7 separate regions of the Homo sapiens genome follow, and regions 1, 2, 3, 4, 5 and 7 are each linked to region 6. Evidence: promoter capture Hi-C in 16 types of primary human blood cells and fetal thymus (Javierre and others, 2016). All regions are on one chromosome and are shown on one strand. The core of a region is centred on a gene start or on the middle of the fragment in contact, and the rest is flanking DNA. Distances in the headings are between cores, read along the strand shown. Region 1 has its middle 60 kb from the start of LINC00494. Region 2 has its middle 5.8 kb from the start of LINC00494. Region 3 has its middle 29 kb from the start of LINC00494. Region 4 has its middle 210 kb from the start of PREX1. Region 5 has its middle 210 kb from the start of LINC00494. Region 6 holds the start of SULF2 (sulfatase 2). Region 7 overlaps PREX1 (phosphatidylinositol-3,4,5-trisphosphate dependent Rac exchange factor 1).

The links. Contacts are between HindIII fragments. The CHiCAGO score rates a contact against its expected background, and 5 or more counts as called.
Region 1: a contact is called between a fragment that was not itself captured here and the fragment with the promoter of SULF2 in region 6, in 1 of 17 cell types (M1 macrophages). The highest score is 5.2, in M1 macrophages.
Region 2: a contact is called between a fragment that was not itself captured here and the fragment with the promoter of SULF2 in region 6, in 1 of 17 cell types (endothelial precursors). The highest score is 5.1, in endothelial precursors.
Region 3: a contact is called between a fragment that was not itself captured here and the fragment with the promoter of SULF2 in region 6, in 6 of 17 cell types (endothelial precursors, M1 macrophages, M2 macrophages and 3 more). The highest score is 10.4, in endothelial precursors.
Region 4: a fragment that was not itself captured here is called in contact with the fragment with the promoter of SULF2 in region 6 in 14 of 17 cell types (endothelial precursors, M2 macrophages, M0 macrophages and 11 more); the score reaches 55.1 in endothelial precursors.
Region 5: a fragment that was not itself captured here is called in contact with the fragment with the promoter of SULF2 in region 6 in 3 of 17 cell types (erythroblasts, M1 macrophages and M0 macrophages); the score reaches 6.9 in erythroblasts.
Region 7: a fragment that was not itself captured here is called in contact with the fragment with the promoter of SULF2 in region 6 in 5 of 17 cell types (naive B cells, M1 macrophages, total B cells and 2 more); the score reaches 9.0 in naive B cells.

The regions. Positions count from the first base shown.
Region 1 is chr20:48,417,911-48,421,135 of GRCh38, reverse strand. No RefSeq gene overlaps it. Among named protein-coding and RNA genes, the nearest start is that of LINC00494, 60 kb to the right of the region's middle. The HindIII fragment of the contact is 2,340 bases long and covers 569-2,908 here.
Region 2 is chr20:48,352,648-48,355,554 of GRCh38, reverse strand. No RefSeq gene overlaps it. Among named protein-coding and RNA genes, the nearest start is that of LINC00494, 5.8 kb to the left of the region's middle. The HindIII fragment of the contact is 842 bases long and covers 1,057-1,898 here.
Region 3 is chr20:48,329,641-48,332,666 of GRCh38, reverse strand. No RefSeq gene overlaps it. Among named protein-coding and RNA genes, the nearest start is that of LINC00494, 29 kb to the left of the region's middle. The HindIII fragment of the contact is 1,930 bases long and covers 693-2,622 here.
Region 4 is chr20:48,620,842-48,623,946 of GRCh38, reverse strand. No RefSeq gene overlaps it. Among named protein-coding and RNA genes, the nearest start is that of PREX1, 210 kb to the left of the region's middle. RefSeq lists an enhancer at 2,904-2,963. The HindIII fragment of the contact is 2,496 bases long and covers 557-3,052 here.
Region 5 is chr20:48,567,360-48,570,254 of GRCh38, reverse strand. No RefSeq gene overlaps it. Among named protein-coding and RNA genes, the nearest start is that of LINC00494, 210 kb to the right of the region's middle. The HindIII fragment of the contact is 313 bases long and covers 1,426-1,738 here.
Region 6 is chr20:47,783,633-47,786,730 of GRCh38, reverse strand. SULF2 (sulfatase 2) reads left to right here and starts at 1,250. Exons shown (of 21, transcript NM_001387048.1): 1 at 1,250-1,388. It overlaps LOC124904920 (a long non-coding RNA gene), which reads right to left and starts at 977. Exons shown (of 2, transcript XR_007067618.1): 1 at 569-977; 2 at 1-326. RefSeq lists an enhancer at 1-132. The HindIII fragment of the contact is 4,753 bases long and covers 1-2,345 here.
Region 7 is chr20:48,637,163-48,640,322 of GRCh38, reverse strand. PREX1 (phosphatidylinositol-3,4,5-trisphosphate dependent Rac exchange factor 1) reads left to right here. Exons shown (of 40, transcript NM_020820.4): 30 at 429-557; 31 at 2,571-2,612. Among named protein-coding and RNA genes, the nearest start is that of PREX1, 190 kb to the left of the region's middle. RefSeq lists an enhancer at 1,478-1,772. The HindIII fragment of the contact is 6,763 bases long and covers 1-3,160 here.

The DNA.
Region 1 (3,225 bases), core at 489-2,988, 630 kb before region 6:
CCAACTAAAAATCACTGTCTGAAGGAAGGGAAGGACACTGGGGTACAAGGAGCCATCTCTACCCAGGAATTAAACAGAAAAGACCTTTCTGGAGGAATGGAAAGAGCTGGAAGGAGAACAGAGAAATGAACTAAAATGGAATAGAAGGGGAATGTGCTGTTTTGCATAAATTACTGATGCTTTGAGAAGATGACTTCTCATGCTGATTGGCACTGGGTCTCTGGTGGATTTCAAATGTCAGTGCAAACAACCTTTGCCAAACTAAGACCGCCCATCAAGGTCGTCAAGACTGGGTCCAGTAGATAAATATTCCCCACAGTAAAATCAGGATGTTCTTGCTGGAAAAATCCGATTCTGGGCCTCTTAGCAAACGTCCATAGCAGAGTTCCACGGGAACAGCGATCCTCAGCCCTATTAGACTGAACTGTATTTTATGATATCTTATGATGATGCTTTACTATTCTAAAATGAAATTCAAAAATAATAGGAATTACCTATATGTATAACCTAAAAGCAAATCAGGATGATGTCTTAATTGTAATATAAAAGAGGGAAAAGGGAACAAGCTTGTTATAAAATAATACAGATAATACAAAATAATAACTTCTATAAAATGAACTTATAATAAATATGTGAAAATGATTACGTGTAGCTACACTAGACAAACCCCAGAAGCAGCGAGACGTCTGCACCTCCAGTGATGAGTAGGCCAATCAAAGAGCAGGAAGCCACACGGCTCAGCAGCACTCTGCACAGGCAGTTAGGGAAAAAGGAACAGTGGTGTCTGTGGGCAGAGACTACAAACTCTATGTTCAATGTCCTTTGAAAGCTGCCATCAATACCTAGAGTTCTGTGTAAAATGGAGTGAGTTTCTAGGCTCATGAATTATTCTAAGGGATATGGATAAGTCATGGGACTTTGTTGTGTCTGAGTGTCCTGAATGTGGCAGAATTCTAGTGTCCCTGGACTCCTATTGAATAATTGAATAAATGTCAGTGTCCCCAATCAAAACACAACCAAAACCATCCCCACAATATCCAAAATGCCCCCAGAAGGGTATGATGTCCACCATAGATCACTACACTGAAGGGCTGGGCGTGGTGGCTCAGGCCTGTAATCCCAACAATTTGGGAGGCTGAGGTGGAAGGATCACTTGAGCCCAGGAGTTCAAGACCAGCCTGAACAATATAGCAAGATTCCATCTTTACTAAAAAAAAAAACCATAAAAAAAATTAACCAGGTATAGTGGCGCATGCCTGTAGTCCCAGCTACATGGAAAGCTGAGGCTGGAGGATCACTTGAGCCCAGGAAGTCAAGGCTGCAGTGAGCCACCACTGCCTGCAAGACAGAACAAGACCTTGTCTAAAAAAAAAAAAAAAAAAAAAAAAAAGGAAAAACTGGAATTCGCAAACCTAAAAAGACTCAGTCCTCTTCTCTCAAATGCAGCTATGTAGTGCAGTACTTGGCCAAACAGAAATTATTCTTGTTTTTCAAATGGTCCCCTTTGGGAGCTTAGGATTTGAAGCCTCAACCCCAAGGAGGGGTCCTTAAGTCCACACTCTACTTACATGTAGCCTACTCTGTGTCTTTATTTAAACAAATCCTCATTTTTCGGCTCCTTGCAGCAAAGTCACAGCTCCAGGGGTGACACTCTTCAGCGTTTATGTGAAAGGGAATTACATCCTGTGTAATTCTAGTCTTTTCAGCCATGGTTGTTTCTTTGGTGTCGTGGGGGTATGTTTAAGCATCAAAAGGAAAAAGAAGGAGAAAATCCAAAGAGACCACCACTAAGTCTGAAATCCTGTTAAACCTTAAACAAAACCAAACCCAACAGGCCTTGACAGAATAAGCTCATAAACAGAACAGACCACAGTCTTAGCAGTGAGACCCTGTGGGGTCTTTTGTAAGCCCAATTCCTTCCATCTGGACTGCGGGGGAAGCTAGGGTTTCCTGGTTCCTAGATATTCTTGTCAGGCTACTTGGAATGGAAGGAACCAGTCTTTGATCTTTGGATTTTTTTTCTCATTTTAAGGTTACTTACATAATAAAACGTATTTTTGTTTGTTTGTTTGTTTGTTAAGTTCAGAGCTACAAGTGCAGGTTCGTTACATAGGTAAACTTGTGTCATGGGGGTTTGTTGTCCAGATTATTTCATCACCCAGGTATTCTGCCTAGTACCCATTAGTTATTTTTCCTGATCCTCTCCTTCCTCCCACCCTCCACCCTCTGAAAGGCACCAGTGTGTATTGTTCCTCACTACGTGTCCATGTGCTTTCATCTTTAGGCTCCCACTTATAAGTGAGAACATGTGGTATTTGGTTTTCTGTTCCTGTGTTACTTTGCTAAGGATAATGGCCTCCAGCTCCATCCATGTCCCTGCAAAGGACATGATCTTATTATTTATTTATTTTTTTATGACTGCATAGTATTTGCAGTGTGTATGTACCACGTTTTCTTTATCCAGTCAATCACTGATGGGCATTTAGATTGATTCCATATCTTTGTTACAATTAAAAAAAACATTAAAAAGTGGGCAAAAGACATGAACAGACACTTTTCAAAAGAAGACATATATGAGAAATGTATTATTTTAAAAAATAGTTATGGCTCATTTAAAAGGAAAGGGCAGAAACTATTACCTCACTCACGTAGTAGAGCTAGAAACAAGGCTTAGAAATATGCTGTTTTAAGTGAACATCCTGAGAAATTCGGGGTCTGCCATCAGGAGATGGGGAAGGGGAGAGAATCTCCTCCCTAAAATCCTTATATGCTAATCAGTGAAGGACATATTCCTAATACAGAGCAGAACTTCCATCTAAAGCACTTTTCTGAAACTCATTACCAGATATAGAGTGTAATTGCTGTGAAATTCTCAAAAATAACCAGAAGACACAAAAATCTAGAAGCTTGAAACAGCCCTAATGTTCTCCAACAACGAGTGAATGGATAAATAAACTGGGATGCCCATACTCCAGAATGACGCTCAGCTGTGGAAAGGAAGGAACCATTACCACATTGCAGCCATGGGCCTGTGTCTCAAAGGCATTATGCTGAGGGGCAGAGCCAGTGTCCCAAAATTATGTACTTTATGATCCTATTTATTTGGCATCCTCAGAAAAACCAAGTTATAGTGATGGAGACAGATCAGCAGTTTCCAGGGGTTCACTATAGGGATGGCACCGGACAATTGTTGGGGGGTTGAAACTCTTTTGGATCCTGATGGTG
Region 2 (2,907 bases), core at 228-2,727, 570 kb before region 6:
ATCCTTGCTTGTGCTGGGACCCTTCCTGGAATACTTCACTCTCCTGTTTGCTCTTCTAACTTTCTTGGTCCTTCAAGACTCAGATTAAACCACCCTCCTCCCCCAGCAAGCACCAGCCATTGCTGCTGCCCTGTCTCAAGGTTTCTGAACCTCAGAACTATTGACATTTGCAGCTGGGAAATCTCTGTTGTGGGACTGCCCTGCATATTGTAGGATGCTCAGCAGCATTTCTGGCCACTACTCTGTAAATGCCAGTTATGCCCTTACCCAGTTGTGACAACCAAAACTGTGTCCAGCTGTTGGCAAGTGTACCTGGAGGGAAAAATTGCCCAGGTTGAGAGCCACCCATTTTCTGAACCTGAGACCCTAAGATTTACTGCCATAGCAATTTAATGACATTGTGATGTTTACTTAACTTCTCGCTGCTGCTTAGTGCCTTCACAGACTGTAGCCAGCCAGAGAGAAGCCAGTTTTGCTACAACCCACAACCCTACATTAAGTTGCCTCCCACACTGTGGAGGGATGGCTCAGGGCAAAGGAGCATGGCAGACCACATGCTTTGGGCTTGATGGCTTTAAAGCCTCTGCCAGACTGGGAGGCTCACAGCTTGGTACCAGGTCTGGATGCAATGCCATATTCCTGAGGCAGGATGATCTTTATGTACTTGATAAATTAAATAAGCAGAAGGCCGTTAGCCTAAGGCTATCCCCCTACTTTAAGCTCCTAAGTAACAAATTACAACCTAACTTGGTAAGTAAACAAACAGAAACCTAACTTAGGAGTATTTTTTTTTTGTAACAAATAGCCAGATTTCAGGCAATCAGAAACAGCTAAGTTTCAACCAATCATTGGCAGCCCACTCATCACACCATGCCTAAATAAGGCAGATGCCTAGTGGTAGCCAATCAGGTGATTTATCTGCTTTCATGTTTAACCTATAGAAGCTCACTGTCCAGACTACTGGGTGGCAGTCTCTGAACCTCTTCTGGTTCTGAGTGCTGCCCAACTCATGAATAGTTCTTTGCTCAAATAAACTCTGTTAATTTGTAAGAAGCTTTTCTTTTATCATGCTGTAGACACTCTTTCTGGCTACATTGCCTGTCAGCGTTCTCCTTGGACCCAGTAGGAACCAAAACTTGCTGTGACTCTCCAATAGTGACAGCCACCCCCTCCCACCCTCTGAGCTCCAGGAATGGCTCACAAGAGCTCTCTACATGCACTGTCTCATTCACAATGAATTAGGTACTAGTGTCCAGTTTTTAGAGCTTGGGAAACTGAGGCATGGAGCATTTCAATGTCCTATGCACATCCAGAGTGAGTAAGGGTAGAGACGGCTTTGTCCTGAGGGGCCTGAGTCCAGAGCCAGTGCCCACAGTTATAATTTTCACAGATCACCACAGCCCACCATCTCTCTGAGCACCCACCCACATTCTCCATGCAGCATGTAACTTGTAGGAAATGAAGGCATGCCCCAGACTTTGCCTGTGTCCAATGTTAACTCATTTCCTCTTTAGCACAAAGCATTTACTAAACGAGAGTTACTGATTTAGTGGATGCACCACTTGACTCTGTCATCTCTTCAGTGATAAGATCTGCATTTTGCTCACTACCTCATCTCAGAATCTAGCAGACTTCTTGATGCATGGCAGGAACTCATCATTATTTGCCTCATTTAATTGAATTGTATTACACTTCTTTTTACACTTCATCACACCTAACAGTGTTTTGCACAGAGAAGTCATTCAAAAAATTCTTGCTGAATGACCATATAACTGATCAATTAGTCACTTTTCAATTGAACAGTTTCCATTGTCCTTACAAGTGAAAAAAGTAAAACGACTGCAAAAGTGCTTTTATTATTGCACATTGATTGCTCCAATTAAATGGTTCTCTAAGCTTCAGAGAGCACAGTGATTCAGCTCTTTTGATTTTAAGCTCAGGTCTTTTCAGTTCTGATACATGCAGGTTTGGAAATCTGTGAAATGTGTAATGTGGATGCCATAAAACCATAATACTGGTAGCCAATTTAAACATTTCCTAAGGAAATTTATATCATTTAGAAATGAGGGAAAGTTCTGGATTGGGACTCAACAGAGTCAGTTTTAGGAAATTTGTTTCAGGGAGTCAGCTGAAGAGCAGCAGGCTGAGAAGCCAACCTGGATGTGACACCCCATGAGAGAAAAACTCACTTTAATGAATAAAGCAAATCCTGGCAAAGTGCATAGAGCTGATCTCAGAGGGGCTGCCTATTTTCTGACAATTGGCAATTCTATCTGTTAACTACAAGTGTGTCATGGGACAAGGAGGAAGACTGCCTGCAGCCCTCAGAGAATAGGATAGTTATCCTCTTTATTGGCACACAATCATGCTTCTAAGTAATTCTTTAGAGCTCATCAGTGGTGAGACCCTTGGGTATTAACTATATCCCTCTGAAGGCTGTGACCCAGAAGTGTCGGGAAATATATCTTGGGGGCAGAGAGGAAAGGAAGCTGAAAAGTAGCTTTTATCCTGAGCGCATTCTCCAAAATAGGCTTTACAACAATCTTTGCATGTGTGATGGGGTGTGTGTACACATACGCATATGTTCTGGTGGTGTGTGTGCCATGGTGTGTGCATAAGTGTACATGTGCCGATATGTATATGCACATGGACAGATGTGCTGGAGTGTGTGTGTACATGGGCAATTATGGACTGGGGTATATGCCAGGGTATGGGTGTACTGGGGTGTATGTATGCACATGGGCAGGTGTGTTGGGGTGTGTGTGCACATGGGCAGGTGTGTTAGGGTGTGTGTGCCCATGGGCAGGTGTGTTGGGGTATGTGTGCACATGGGAGGGTATGTTGGGGGGTGTGTGCACATGGGCAGGTGTACTTGGATGTATGCATGTATACTGGGGTATTTGTGTA
Region 3 (3,026 bases), core at 408-2,907, 550 kb before region 6:
AGCAATGTTTCATCTCCCTTTTATACATGCTAATGCATCTGAAAATTGAGAAAGAATTAAAAGATAATTAAAGAGCTCTTCCAATTATGCAAAGTTCAGGGAATGCAGGCAACCATTAATGGAAGAGATGGGAAAAGTAGAAGGTAAAGTAGTCTTTTGAAAGAAAGCAGAATATGTGTTTATGTTGGAATTTACCCCTGGGTGAATTTCCTTTATCTCAAGGATAATCACAAATTCCACCTGAAGCAGGTTCAGTATAGAACTCATTTCCATCTAAAACAAACCATATCCGATAAGCCTGAAGGGGCTATGGACAGTGTCTTTGCCTGGGATCCTCCACATGCAGGACCTGAGACAAGAGCAGGTAGATTATTTCCCAGAAATGATCCCAGGATCTGGATTTGGGGGACTGGCAAGAATAAAATGCGGGAAGAGGAAAAGCCAATCTAGGATGTGTTTTGAGCTGACTACCAACTATGGTGGTTTTAAAAACATGCTGCATGGTTTTAAACACTCCTCCCATGAAAGGTGGGTCTAGGTACCCTGTCATTCAATCTGAATGGGCTTGTTTTGCTATGTCACCTCCTTGTTTTGCCAGGTCATGAAAAGCCACTAGTAACTGGTGAGTTCTCTGTCCTCCTTCCTTCCTGCAGCATGGCTCTTCTAAACAGCAAAACATTGTTTGAAAAGCTTGAGTCTGGGTTCTTTTGCTATCTTTTGCTGTAACAGCAGTGAGTTTGAGCCATTAGAAAATTCTATGCCCTTGGACAGAGATTGGATCATAGGTGGACATGTGAGACTCAATTCTGAGACTTTTGTTGAAACTGTGGGACAGAAAATTTATTTTTCTCTCAGAGCTCCTGAGGATGTGAATAGGTGCCAGGACAGAAGAGCTTGCCTGAGAATGGGATTCACAGAGAACAAGTCACAGCTAGGAGGTGGGGGGGTGGGTGTCACTTCCTGATACCATCATTTGAGTACCTGGATCCAGCCATGCCTGAAGCTATTGCTCTTGGACTTTTTAATGACATGAGCCAATTACTCCTCATTATGCCTTTTTTAATAAGATAAATTTTTATTTAGATGCCATCAGTTGGAATTAGGACAGTCTGACTAAAACAGACCAACTTGGGAAAGATCTTAGATTCTCCAATACATGCTAACTTACTGGTAGGAGACTTCAACTATAAGACCACACAGAGAAAATCCTCTCTGGTCAGAACAAAATAGTGCCTCTTAATTCAGGCTAATTGGGGTTTTCATTTTAACATTGTTCTCACTTTTGCAAGACTCAGAGTAGACCGTGGTGTTCATTATGATCCCCTGATGTTGTATAAATCCAGTGGCTTCCTATGAATATGGAGACTTCATAGGCTGAACCACGCCTGAAACACATTCGTCTCTTTATCCTTTATCTTTTCTTATAAGACAAAGAAAATAAATACAATATGTATAATTATGAATGTTCATCAGAAACAGATACATAAGATAAAAGTTAAAATCTTAAGTTTTCGACATTACAAAGTGATATTATTTTGTCTGGGCTTCCTTTTTATAATCCAAGTGTTTTCTTCTCATCCATTGTGAGATCAATAATTAACTTTAGTGTAGCTTTTTATTCCTTCCTAAAGACTGGCTTTAATTCTCCCATGCCTCCATGTCTACTAAAGACATTTGAAGATGATGCATTCAATGTTTGTAACAATGCTTAAAAAATTTTCTTAAAAACGATTTTAGTTTTGGCAAGATTTAGAACTCATAAACGCATGCTGATATGCATTCTCTTACTATTTGCACTTCTCCTTAAAAATCAGTGATTTTTCTTCTGTTTTAGAGTTAGGTTTATGCTCATTCTTGTTCATCTCATAGTTTGCTGCCACAAAACAAAAATCAATTTAAAAAGAAAAAAGCAATTCCTATGTCTTTCCCCAATAACCTCTGAATATATATACACACACACACACACACACACACACACACACACACACACGCACATATATATATGACAAATCTGCTCTGAGATTATGAAGCCTCTTTTTCTTCTGGAAGGAATAAAATGGACCTTGAAAATCCATATCACAATGTGTCTATCACAGAGGAGGAAAAGGCCTTCGGGCATTCATAGGCTGTCAGGAGCTGCAATGGTGAGAGGCAGCATTGCATCCTTCCCATGAGAGAAACAGGCACCTTCAGGCAGGATCTTAGAAAAGCATAGAAAAATGACCTTTTCATGGAAGCTGGAACTTTGCTTAATGTGAATAAGGGTGACTCACTGCTTTGTGAAACTGTATATGTGTAATAATAAAAGAAGCCCTACAGTGTCTATTTATAATTCATTTTTTTGGTTTCCATTCTTTTTAGCTAGGGAAAATGTACAATGACCCCATAGTAGGTTCCTGACACTCTTCACACAGGCTGACTTTCATCTCTAGATTTTGCTGGGACGCATCTTGAGGACCTCTTGCCTTGTGGCTGCAACATTTAAGAGGCAACATGGATTGTCCACCTCTGTCTCCTGACTTTGGGTCCTGCAGAGCAGGCGGCTGTCTGGGGGCTGGTGGACGAGGCCCCAGCAGGGGGAGCACATGGTCTCTGGGCCTCCCCTACCAGGAAACCTAAGCTTTGCTTTGCCAGGTTCCCAGGGGCTGGCTCCATCTGGAACTCCCCATGAATTCACCAAAGACAGTCAGTCCCACCCTCCTGGCAAACTCGGTGCAAGTCCTCCAAAGACCAAGGCCAACCAGGAAGGAATCAGTTATCTGGCCAGGATAAATGGGGGGGCTGCTTTGTTGGAGAAAGGCCTGTGGGAGGGGGCCCTGGGGACACAACCTGCCCTGAGGGCCCACCTCTAACCTGGGAAAGTTCCCCACCTCCTGTGCTTCCCCAGCAGAGAGTGGGCTAAAAGCAGCTCTGTCTTCACAGGTCCTGGGAAGCACGAACGGGTTGGTGCGTGCTGAGCATTGCAAACTGGCATGTGGTAGGGCTACCCTGTCTCAGTTATTTTCACATTGGTAATTATTTTAGCC
Region 4 (3,105 bases), core at 555-3,054, 840 kb before region 6:
TTTTTCCCCCCTGGATTCTGAGCTCCCATTTCACTGTGAAGGTAGGAAAAAGTGACTGTTTTCCCAGGAATTCCACACCTCCTCCTGGGTGGCTTACTTGTGCTGAGGGGACAGTGTGGATCCAAGGGGTGCCATAGAATCCTCCTCGCTCCAACCTGCAAGGCCTGTTGGATCCAGGCGGGAGTGGAGTTCAAAATACCCACAACATGGTCGTGCCGGACCCCCAGTCAGCCAGAACTTACGCTGGCCACAAACAGGCCTATTGGGCAGACGTGAAATGCACCAATGAGAATAGAGAGTCTGCGTGCACACCTGGGCCTGGTGGCTGCATCCTAGGCTGTCAGCAGGTTCTCCACCTGCCTGGGCCCAGGTGATCTTTATGAAGCTGCCTGGGTTTGTTTGCATAGTCAGAGAAACCTCATTCCCTGGGCTGCAGACCTGTTCTGCTGTGCCAGCCCTGTGCCCCCTCGTCCTTTTTTTTTTTTTTTGAGACAGGGTCTTTTGCTCTTATCACCCAGGGTAGAGTGCAGTGGCGCGATCATGACTCACTTAAGCTTCGACCTCCTGGGCTCAATTTATCCTCCCACCTCAGCATCCCAAGTAACTGCAACTACAGGCACGTGCCACCACGCCTGGCTAATTTGTTAAATTTTTTGTGGAGACCAGGTTTCAGTATGCTGCCTACCAAGTAGCCTGGACTACAGGCACACACCACCATGCCTGGCTAATTTTTAAAAATTTTTATAGAGACCGGGTTTCGGTATGTTGCGTATGGCCTCTTCTTTATTCCATCTTTTCCCGATTTCCAATCCTTTGGAAAATGCTGAAATCGATGACAGTTTCCTCTGGGTCATGGCCACCCTTGGGACTCCCCTGTACCATGGTGCTGCACCCAGCCCTGCCATTTCACACTCGAGCCCCTTCTCTTTCAGTCTCTTTTCCTTCCAAACTAACCTGTTGCAGATTACATTCTCTGAAGGCCCAGATTGGATCCCTCCCAGAGAGAGATCCTCGCGTCTCTCAGTTACAGGTTTCAAAGGACTCAATACTCTAACAGGCAAGAGGGAATCCTGGTGGGGTTTCAGGCACAGTCATGGATTGATTATTTAGAATTATCTGAGGCCAGTGTTTGGATCCAGGGAAAATCACTTCGAGGGAAGACCTGTTACCTCAATCTATATTTGAGGTCAACAGGGAGGATTGGACGTCTTCCTTCAGGCAGACACGTTTCTAGAAAGCATCGATTTCAGCCTCTCCTCCACCCTGGGGGCCCGCAGAAGGAACATACATTCTCCTGGGGCCGTAGGCAGGAGCAGCTTGGGTTTCCAGCCGGCTCTCTGTGGCCTTGAGCAAGTTGCATACTTTACAGGCTCAGAGCTGTGCTTGCAGAGTTGGGAGGGAGAGCCGGGCCCACCTCCCTCTCCGAGATGTGTTTCTCCAAGTATAAAACTAAGCACGAAGGGCCTCTCAGAGCAAGCGGACATTTTTGCAGGAGACAAGAGGTCTCAAACTGATGGCTCCAGGCTGAAACTTGGAACTAAATGTGGGTTTTTTTTTTTACTTCCTTCCTGATATGGTGTTTTAAAAAAATGAATTATATTTATGAACCAGCAAATTTCATCTCTGAATTCTGATTTTTAGTTTGTCTCGAAAATCAGAAGCTCTGAGCTGGGTGTGGTGGTGCGCACCTGTGGTCCCAGCTACTTGGAGGCAAAGGTGGGAGGATTGCTTGAGACCAGGAGTTCAAGGCTGTCGTGCGCTTTGATCACACCTGTGAATAGCCAACTGCACTCCAGCCTGGGCAACGTAGTGTGGTCCTGCCTCTTAAAAAAAAGATTAAAGAAAAAATCAGAAGCTCTGGTCACACTGGTCCACATTCCCACCTGGCTACATGTCAGCTGGAGCTGAGGAGCGGCTGTCTTCTTGAGGAGGGTGCCAGCTCTCCAGCTCCCCGGAGCCACGTGGTCCGAGCACTCATCCGGCCTGCTCACGCTGACGGCCAGATCCTTAGCTCTGGACTTGCCATGGCGATGTCAGCTCGGGGAGGACCTGGTGACCCGGAGTCACTGTGCCGTCCAATGGAGAATCAAGGGGCAGGCGCAGCCCCGCATTGACGTCTCTCGGAGCCTCTCCTTCTCTGCTCCTCCAGGATGAGGGCAGGGCCCAGGTGGTTGAATTCCTCTGAGCCTCAGTTTTTTCATCTGTCAAAAGGTGCTGACCCAGAGATGGCCCCTTGGCGTGGACTGCAACAGAGGCCACCCAGGAAGTGGAAGGTACGATGGGGTGTGTTGACCGCTTTATGATTTTATCTAAATAACTGTTGGTGTACTTCCTGTCCACCTTCCCCCCAGCAGTAAGAGCAGGAACCACACCCCTTCCATACTGTAGCCCAGGGCCAGACAGTGGTGAATCACGGCTAAATATTAATAGAAGAAAGCAGGGTTAGCACAGTGATCAGAGCGGGGGGCGCAAGCCACACCCATCTGTGGCCAAGCGGGCCCCTCTAACCTCTGTGTCTGCCACGTGGGTTCATTCATGGGGGGCTGGACTAGGACCTTTGAAGTCAGACACCCTCGCCTGCTCCTGAATCTGTCAACACCTGATACTTGCTGAGTGGCCATATCTGAGATTCTCTGTCTTTCTGGGACCCTCAGCTTCCTTCTTTGAGAAATGGAGACTTTACGCCCACCTGGCTGCCTTGCGGGGGTACCAGGAGTCTCCTCCAGGGCCCCAAAGTGGAACTTCCCGGGATAAGTGTAGTGCCCTGTCTGTCCAGCAGGTGGTGCTGGGGACCGCGTAGTGCCCAGAGGCTGCTGTTCCCCGGGCTCCAGCACTCAGACCGAAGGCTGGCTCCTGGGTGCAGGTATTTGGGACAGAGCCAGCCTGGAGGCGGGGCCTGGAATCGTCTGGACAATGGGCACTGGCGCTATCCCTCTCCTGGGCTGGGCTTGCCGTGAATATTTTCTCTTTTTTTCTCTCTTTTTAAAAACTTTTTAAAATTTGTCTCTTTCTTACTTTCGTCCCCCTCATTTTCTTTCTCTCTCTCTAAGCTTTTCTATATTTGTCTTTGTCCCATAACATATGTCTGTGAGCTTGACTCGATTT
Region 5 (2,895 bases), core at 333-2,832, 780 kb before region 6:
ACAAGGTCTCAGCTTCTAAACTTTTCTCTTCTTTCTTAGCCTCCTGGTGACAAAAGCCTAAAGGTCTTTGAACATCACCCAAACAGATTTTCCTAATGGATTTGAAACTTTGATGACACTTTCGAGCACTTTCTGATCAGTAAGCTCACAAAACCAGTTCCGCTGAGCTTTCGATACTTCCAAGAGGCAGCTCAGGGAGGAGTGACCACTTCACGTAGGGAAAGGAAAAGCCATTCTCAGTAAAAACCTGCACACTCAACCCCCAAAATAGGAAACAGAATGAGCCCCTCATCTTGCGTGTCCGGCTTCATCCTCCTAACCGGACCCTAATGAGGATGGACGGCTGTTCTCTGCCCCGGAACTGGATGGAATGCTGGGATTATCTCAGTGGAGAAGTCTCTGGCCCTGAGGACTGTCAGAACTCCTGCATGGATGAGCAGAAAATAGCAAATGATAAATTTTTCAGGAGGCCGCCTGCTTGCTGGCTGAAGCCGGCCATGAGATAATGTGTTGGACTTTAGGGGATGAGCCTTGTTGACCTGGGTCTATTTAGAGGTTCAGAAGACGCATTCTCCCCCCACCCCTCACCTCCTGGAAGGAGCTTGGCCACCTTCCAAGGCCAGTTCAACAGTTGGGCAGGGGGCCCTGGCTCATTCGTAGAAAGGAGGACTTTCGGGCAAAGATGTGAGAGTGGAGGGCTGCCAGGTGGAAGCTGACAGACTCCACAGAACATGAGGGACCCTAAGACCGCTGTCTCCACTCCCTAGAGAGTTTATCTTCAGAAATACTTGCTCAAGGAGGCAAAGATGAATATATAAAGACATTCCCAGTCACACTGTGTATTACAATTAAAAATAAACTTTCAAATTGGAACAATTCAATATCCTCTACCTGAAGACTGGTTCAATAGTGCAGTGATTAAAAAACGTGGCTCTATGGCTGGGCATGGTGGCTCACACCTGTAATCCCAGAACTTTGGGAGGCCAAGATGGGAGGATCACTTGAGCCCAGGAGTTCAAGATCAGCCTGGGCAACTTAGGGAGACCCTCGTCTCTACAAAAAATACAAAAATTGAACAATGAGAACACTTGGACACAGGGCGGGGGACATCACACACCCAGGGCCTGTTGTGGGGTTGGGGGAGGGATAACATTAAGAGAAACACCTAATGTAAATGACCAGTTAATGGGTGCAGCACACCAACATGGTACATGTATACCTATGTAACAAACCTGCATGTTGTGCACATGTACCCTAGAACTTAAAGTATAATAATAAAAAAAAAAATTAGCTGGGTGTGGTGGCACTCTCCTGTAGTCCCAGCTACTTGGGAAGCTGAGGTGGGAGGATTGCTCGAGCTCAGGAGGTTGAGGCTCAAGAGGTTGAGGCTGCAGTGAGCTGTGATCACGCTACTGCACTCAAGCTTGGGTGACCAAGTGAGACCTTGTCTTAAAAAAAAAATTAAAAATAAGTAAATAAAAACATGGCACTAGGTTTAAATATTGGCTTTACTGCTTTCTGGCTGTGTGACCTGGAGCAAGTTTCTTAACCTTTCTGTGCCCTAGTTGCTCCACCTTTATAATGGCGAGAAAAAATAATACGTCTATGTTGAGGCTTCCATGGTTTCCTTTGTGCTGCTCTCCTGTGTCCCCATCAGACTTTCTTATGCCAGGATATTTTCTTGGTTTTCATCAAGAGTCGCTGACACAAAGTTATAATCTGAGCTTAATATTAAGCTTATTTGAATCACAGATCTTATAGCAAATGTTTATCGCTCCCAGGAGAGAAGAGCTGGGGCTCAATCATCAACCTAGTGGCTCAGCTTAAAATGCAGGTGTTGTTTTTCCTCTTCTCTTTGCCTCAACCCCACCTCCAGTCCCCCAGATACGTACAGGGTCTGACGGCGTTTCACTATCTGCACTATGCACTCCAGTCCAAGCATCACCAGCTCCTGCCTGACAATTACAGTGGCTTCGCTTCCACCCAGAGAGGATGGTCTCTCTGCTTCCACCCTCACCCTTGACAATCTGTTCTCCACACTCAGCCAGAAGGATGGTGTTAGAATACATGTCTGGTCATGTCCCTTCCCCATCTAAGCCCCCTAACCCATTTTCATTTTATGGGAATGTAATCCAAGCTCCTCACCATGGCCTTGGACAGTCTCCCCAGTTTGTCCATCTAAAGTAGCCCCACTACCACCCTTGCTGTCTGGCCCATTGCCTCCCTTTGTTCTCTTCTTATAATTTATTTCTCTTTGAAATGACTGCATGTATTCATTTGCTAACATCATCACCTCCACTTCCTGAGGGAAGGAATTGTGTCTGTCTTCATTACTGTAGCCCTAGGCTGTAGAATAGTGCCCGACATAGGGAGTACTCAAAAGATACTGGGTGGAAACATGATTTGGTCTGACCCTTTCTTCGTCTTTAGGCTTTGGGGGAAACCCTTTTCCTTGTGAATCCAACTCGAATCCCATTCTGTGTCTATGTGTGTCGTCTTGCACCAGGAACCCGAGGCTAGGCATGGCGACTCTGGGCAGACGCAGCTTGTGATGTGAGTGGAAGAAGCTGGATTCTCTGAGTCTTGTGCCTCTGTTTCCTCATTTGTCAAAAACAAATACAAAAATGGGTCTAAAAGAAGGCCTTTCCTTCAAAGGCCTTTCTGGCTCTGGGGTCTCTGATGTGAAGTTAAGGGGGTCTGGGAGCTGCAGCCTGTGTCTGGGGCCCTGAAGCAGGTGGGCTTTCCAGGAAGAGGGGTGCTGTGGACTCTGTCCTCGGTGGCCTGGCGCTCGTGCTGGTCCCTTGAGAGTGCTCCCAGGCGGTAATGATCCCTCTGCAGGTTTCTCTGGGGTCAGCTGGGTTTCTGCTCTGTGGGCAGCAGCTGGTACAGCAAGTG
Region 6 (3,098 bases), core at 1-2,500:
CTCCGGCCTCTTCTGTGGCGCGAGGGACAGCGGAAACCACGGTAGACAGCACCCCCTTGAGTCCAATTCCTCCCCTTTCGGAGGAAGCCGGTTTCTCCTTTCTATGCTACTCCCGGGCCATTTCTGGACAACAGCTGCTATTTTCACTTGAGCCGAAGTTAATTTCTCGGGGAGTTCTCGGGCGCGCACAGGCAGCTCGGTTTGCCCTGCGATTGAGCTGCGGGTCGCGGCCGGCGCCGGCCTCTCCAATGGCAAATGTGTGTGGCTGGAGGCGAGCGCGAGGCTTTCGGCAAAGGCAGTCGAGTGTTTGCAGACCGGGGCGAGTCCTGTGAAAGCAGATAAAAGAAAACATTTATTAACGTGTCATTACGAGGGGAGCGCCCGGCCGGGGCTGTCGCACTCCCCGCGGAACATTTGGCTCCCTCCAGCTCCGAGAGAGGAGAAGAAGAAAGCGGAAAAGAGGCAGATTCACGTCGTTTCCAGCCAAGTGGACCTGATCGATGGCCCTCCTGAATTTATCACGATATTTGATTTATTAGCGATGCCCCCTGGTTTGTGTGTTACGCACACACACGTGCACACAAGGCTCTGGCTCGCTTCCCTCCCTCGTTTCCAGCTCCTGGGCGAATCCCACATCTGTTTCAACTCTCCGCCGAGGGCGAGCAGGAGCGAGAGTGTGTCGAGTGAGTGTGCGTCTGTGTGTCCCGGCGAGGGTGCGCGCTCGGCGCCGGGAGCGCGGCCAGCCGAGTCCGGAGGCATCGGGAGGTCGAGAGCCGCCGGGACCCCAGCTCTGCGTTCACTGCCCCGTCCGGAGCTGGACTTCGGGGCCGGGGCCGGGGCCGTGCGCCGGGGACAGGCAGGGCCGGGTCGCGGGCCGCGCGTCCCCCAGGCCGGAGGTAAAAGCGCTAGCGCGCGGAGGGCTCGAGGAGGGCACCGCGGCTGGGCCCCCCGCGCCCCGGGCCCCAGCCGTCCGCGGCTCCCGGCCCGACGCTCCCCGCCCCGGAGCGCGCCCGCCTCCCCTGCGTGGAGGCCGGCGGGCAGGCGAGCGGGGGGCGGTAGCGCCGTGCCAAGGGGCTGGCTGGGGCAGCGTGGCCGGCCGGGCTGGGGCGATTTAAGAGCGGTCCGGGCGGGGTGCGGAGCCGGACTTTGGCTGGGGCGGCGCGCGGGGAGGGGGCCGGGGGCGGTGGCGGCGGCGTTGGGGGGCGGGGAGGAGGCAGGAGGAGGAGCAGCAGCGCTCGCCGGGGGATGCAGCAGCGGCAGCGGCGGCGGCGGCGGCGGCAGCGGCAGCGGCGGCGCGGAGTCCCCTGCGCCCAGCGGCCCGGCCGGGCTGCGGCAGAGGCGGCGGCGGCGCCCCGCTCCGGGTGAGGTTGCCGGGGCCGTGCGCGCTGGTGAGTGGGGCGTGGGGGGCAGGTGGGTGGCTGGGGGACGCGGGGCTCGGGCGGGGGCTCGCGGCGGCCGGAGCCTTCCCCGGCGTGAGCCCGGCCGCGAGCGCCGCCCAGGTGAGCCGGGGCTGGTCCGGACCGCCCGGCTCCAGCCCCAGCGCTGCTTGCGGAGGTGGGTCCGGGCGGGCGGGAGGGAGGCTCCGGCGCCGGCCGTCCGCAGAGGGATGACCTGTTTGACCCCGCTGGCTGGCGGGCGGGCGAGGACTTCCCGCCGCGCCCCTGACCCGCGGACACGGCACACCGAGCACAGGCGGCCCCGGGTAGGGGAGCGCGCCTGGGCCGGCCATCCGCAGGGGCATGGCCTTGTTGACCCTTAGGGTTTAGACCCAAGGGACCGGTAGATGCCAGCCCACGTGGGGCTTGTCCGGGCAGGACTCGGGGAAGCAGTGGGCCGGATCTTCAGAGTGGTTGGAAACTCGCAGACACCGAAAGGACAAACAGGATCGAAAAGGCAGACTTCCTCCCAGGCCAGGGCAGAACGAGTTTCCATCGCCTGGCGGAGGGATGCTCCCCTCCCCGGCTCCTCGGGGTTTCAGAAGTCTAGCGGTGAATTCTAGGAGTGCACTTTTCCAAACATTCCTTATAGTAGTTCGTTCATTCGTTCTACAAGCATTTCTGGAGCACCCCCTCGTGCCGGGCACCGCGTTCTGTTCCAGGGAAACGCGGCTGAACAGGATCTGGCTCCTGCGCGCCAGAAGCTGCCGGTTCACTGGGAGGGCAGCAGGGTAGAGAGATGCCGTCTCGGGGTGGAAGATGGAAAGGGAAGCCTGCAATCCTAGTTTGCACACTGGCCTCGGTCCGCAACTCCCCCACCTGCACGCAGTAGGCCCAGCACACAGTAGGAAGAGCAAGCCAGACCTGCCTGTGACGACCCTCTCCTCCTCCTCCTCCCCCTTGAAAGCTTTGATTCATTCCCTGCCCCCCTTTCTGGAAAGTCTTCCTGCAGCTTGTTTTAATCACTTTTTGAGTTAAAAGTCAATATTTAATTAACCAAGTAATTACATTCAGCTTACGTTTCAATCTGGGTATTTGCTCATCTGTGCGTGTTGGGACACCCGCCCTCTCGCCCCTCCATCTGTCCCCTGCCTGTTTCCCACCGGGTCCACCCCCACTTTTGGGGCAGAGAAGGGGAGGCTGCGCTGGAGCAGGTTCTCAGGGGGAGACAGGGAGCAGGAGAGACGGGCTTTCTCTGGAGGACACCCCCGGATCTGCGCGCTCTCCAAATTTCAGCTTGTAGTGAATAGTGAAGGTGATTTCTTGACAGCCTCTGCCTCCCATTACAGAACCACCAGAGGGTTCTAATTAAATTAGAGCCAATCGTTAAGTATAGGAACGGGGTAGGGAGGACAGAACGAAGGGGGCCCCTTCCCTGTAAGAGATGTTCTCCCCAGCTTCGTCTCTCCCACATCATAGAGAAGAGAAAACTCATCCAGACAGCCTGTCGGATGTGTAATTTAGCGTTCTAATAAGCAGCTTGAAAGGCGAAGGTGGTGGGCTTGGCAGATGGCATGTTGGACCTTTGTACATGAAGGCCTCTTCCTTCCCCAGCTAAATTTATATACATAAAGGCCGTGATGTTGGCATCACTGCTGCAGCTGAGGGTCAATGTGGGTTTGGGGTTTGGGCTTTGTGTGTACTTCTTGGGTTTTTTATTTG
Region 7 (3,160 bases), core at 18-2,517, 850 kb before region 6:
TCTGTGTGTGGGCTTCCTCCTCTGTGTAGGGAAAGGGATAGAACTCATGTGCCATCTCAATTGGTTGTGGCTATGAGGAGGTAGTTCCTGAGAATCCTTCTGTGGCTACAACATCCAGGCTTAGACGAAAGGAAAGCCGTGATTGATTTGTGAGGTCTGCACTGGATTGGCTATAGCTGTGGGGAGTCTTGGTCTCAGAGCAGCAGGAAGGAGTGCTGAGATTGATGAATAATGCCTGCCATGGGTGTGGTACCATGAAATAGCACACTTACCCTCTGTGGACCCGATAATGCCCAGGAGTCCTGCCAGCTCCCTTGATCTAGGATTATGAGCTCTGGGATCTGTGATGGGACATAGGCCTTTGTGCCACCGTTCTCCAACACTACCTCCGTCCCTTCCCTGGCCCTCATGCCACTTTCCTGCCCCAGAGTTTAAACAGAAAGAAGAGTGTACAATCCGTGGCCGGAGCCTGATCCAGATTAGCATCCAGGAGGACCCCTGGAACCTCCCCAACTCCATCAAGACCCTGGTGGACAACATTCAGAGATATGTGGAAGGTCGGTGGGCAGGGAGGGTGCATCATGGTGGGGAGGGGGCCATGGCTTTTGGTGTGGAACCTGAGAGAATCAGGAATGGATCCAGTTCTGTGACCCCTGTTTCTCCATGACCAGGGAGAGGACAAGAGAAGTGATGCCCTCTCTCAGCTGAGTGTCCTGCCCTGGGCAGGATGTGACTTGAGCCCAGGAGTTTGAGACCTGGGCAACATAGTGAGACCCTGTCTCTATCAAAACAAAAATCAGAAACAAAACAAAACAAAACAAAGCCCTGACTTTGGAGGTTGAAAAGGCTGAACCTGTTCTTTCTCAGCTTCCAAAGCATTGGATGTGTGAGTTCCTGTTATTATCAGGGTATGAGGGACACCGGCTGGCAGCCCACTGACCAGATTCAGGCCCACAGATAGGTTTCGATGCTGCAGCAGCAAAAACTGTGACTCTGCTTCCAGCTTGACAAAGGTTCTCACATAGAAACTTGGATTTCTGGCTGCTCTTGAACAACACGAAGATCTGGTGACTCTAGGCCCAGTCTCCCATCCTCCCTTGGTGGAGAGGAGTGGCGGCCGCTCTGTGTACGTGGGGCCGAGGTGCTTTCCAGTTCACCCCAGTCTCCACCACTCCCTGTGGCTTGGCGTCTGCTCCACGCATCTTACATCACCTGCCTGGCCCTTGCCGGCATTTGCGTCTGAGACTCCTGCGTTAGAAGGATCCGGACGAGGGAGATGTTTGACCAGGACAGTGGGAGATTAGAGGACTCTGGGCTGTTCCCTCGGGGAATGGCAGCCTCTGAGTCGGAGTCTCTGCTGCTTCTGATCTGTCCTGTTCTCCAAAAGTGTAACCAGTGAGGAGCATCGACTCTGGGTCCAGACCACCAGGGCTTGAATCCCAGCTCACCCACTTACTGGCTGTGTGATCATGGCGAGTTCCTTGACGCCTCTGGCCTTAGCTTCTTCCTGTGTCAAATGGGCCCACAGTGCTGCCTCCTTCCCGTGTGGTCAGGAGGATTAAATGAGTCAGCATAGGTCATGCGCTCAGTGCCCTGGCTGCCTGGCGTGGTGACTCCTGGCCTGGCTTCCTGGTGTGGTGAGTTCTGGCCTGGCTGCCTGGCGTGGTGAGTCCTGCCGTGGTGCCTGGCGTGGTGAGTCCTGACAAGAGCGCACCACTGCAGCTGCTCTCGTTCTTACCCTGCCCAGCCCTGAGTCCTGCAGTCCTCCCTGGGGAAGAAGGCACCTAATAAACCAAATCCAAAGCCCTTCCACATCTTTCTAAGCCCTTTTGTGGGCCGAGGAGCATCTTTTTTAAGGAAAGAGAACAGGATGTTGGGCCTGGAAGAATTGAGCTTTTTTTGCAGGACAGGGCGTGTGTAGGGCCATGCCCATGTAGGATGAGAATATGTATGTGAGGCTGTTAGGAGTGTGTGTCTTATGTGTGCACTCGTGTGTCTGTTGTGTGTCTGTGTGGATGTGTGTGTACCTGTGTGTGTACATATGTATGTGAGTCTGCAGATGAGTGCACGTGTGTGGTGTGCACTTGTGTGTCTGCTGTGTGCTTGTGTGGGCGCATGTGTACCTGCGTGTGTACATATGTGAGTCTACGTATGAGTATATGTGTGTGTCTCTGTGTGTGGCATGCACTTGGGTGTCTGTTGATGTGTGAGTGTGTGTGTGTATGGATACGTGTGTATCTAGGTTGTACGTGTGTGTGACCATACTTATGTGAACAAGGTGTGGGGCAGGGGCTGTGGCCCAGGGATTAAAGGGGCTGGTTCCATCTGTGTCCCAGGCTTGCACGTACAGATGGGGCTCACAGTTGGGGTTCCACTGCCTGAGGTCAGGGGTTCCTGGAGTTTACCTGACAATCAATAAAACCTCCTTGAGCACAGCCTTGGGTGCCAGGGCTTTGCTGTGAAGGGTCAGAGCACCTTGGGAGGTGCCATGGGGAGGGGCCCGGTTCTGCCCTCACCTCTTGCTGCCCCCTCCCAGCCCGTCCCCCTTTCTGTCTCCCTTCTCCTTCCAGATGGGAAGAACCAGCTGCTCCTGGCCTTGCTGAAGTGCACAGGTGAGGCCTTTAAAGGTGTGTGGGGGGCACATACCCGGCCTCTTCCACCACCCAAGGCCGACCATCCATGCCCTCGGGGCCTGGACGGGGGGAGGCAACGCTTTGGCCTGGAGCCCCTCCAAGAGCTACTTGAAACTTGCTTCTTCCTCTTGTGTCCAAGGGACAAGTCTCAGGGCACTGGAGCCAGGAGCCCTGTCCTGTGCCACTGCCCAGGCCTGGGTGGATGTTGACGGGGCCCCGGGATAGAGGACGATGTTAGGGGGCCTTGTGCCGGTAGAGCCTTCAGCCCCAGCCTGGGGGCTTCCACCCAGCAGAGAGTGGGGAAGAGGAAGGGGGAGGAGGTAGCGGGAGAATCTTGGAGACCTTCTCTATCCCTGCCTTCTTTCTAGAAATTAGCCAAGGGGGTGCTACTGCAGGATCTGGGTCAAATTTGGTCACTAAAAAACTCACTGGCCAGAAGCCGGCCATTGGAAATAATTCCTTCCAGAAGATTGGGACCCTGAGAGACCAATTGCTTGAAACTGGCCAGTTCTTCAGACCATGCCAAG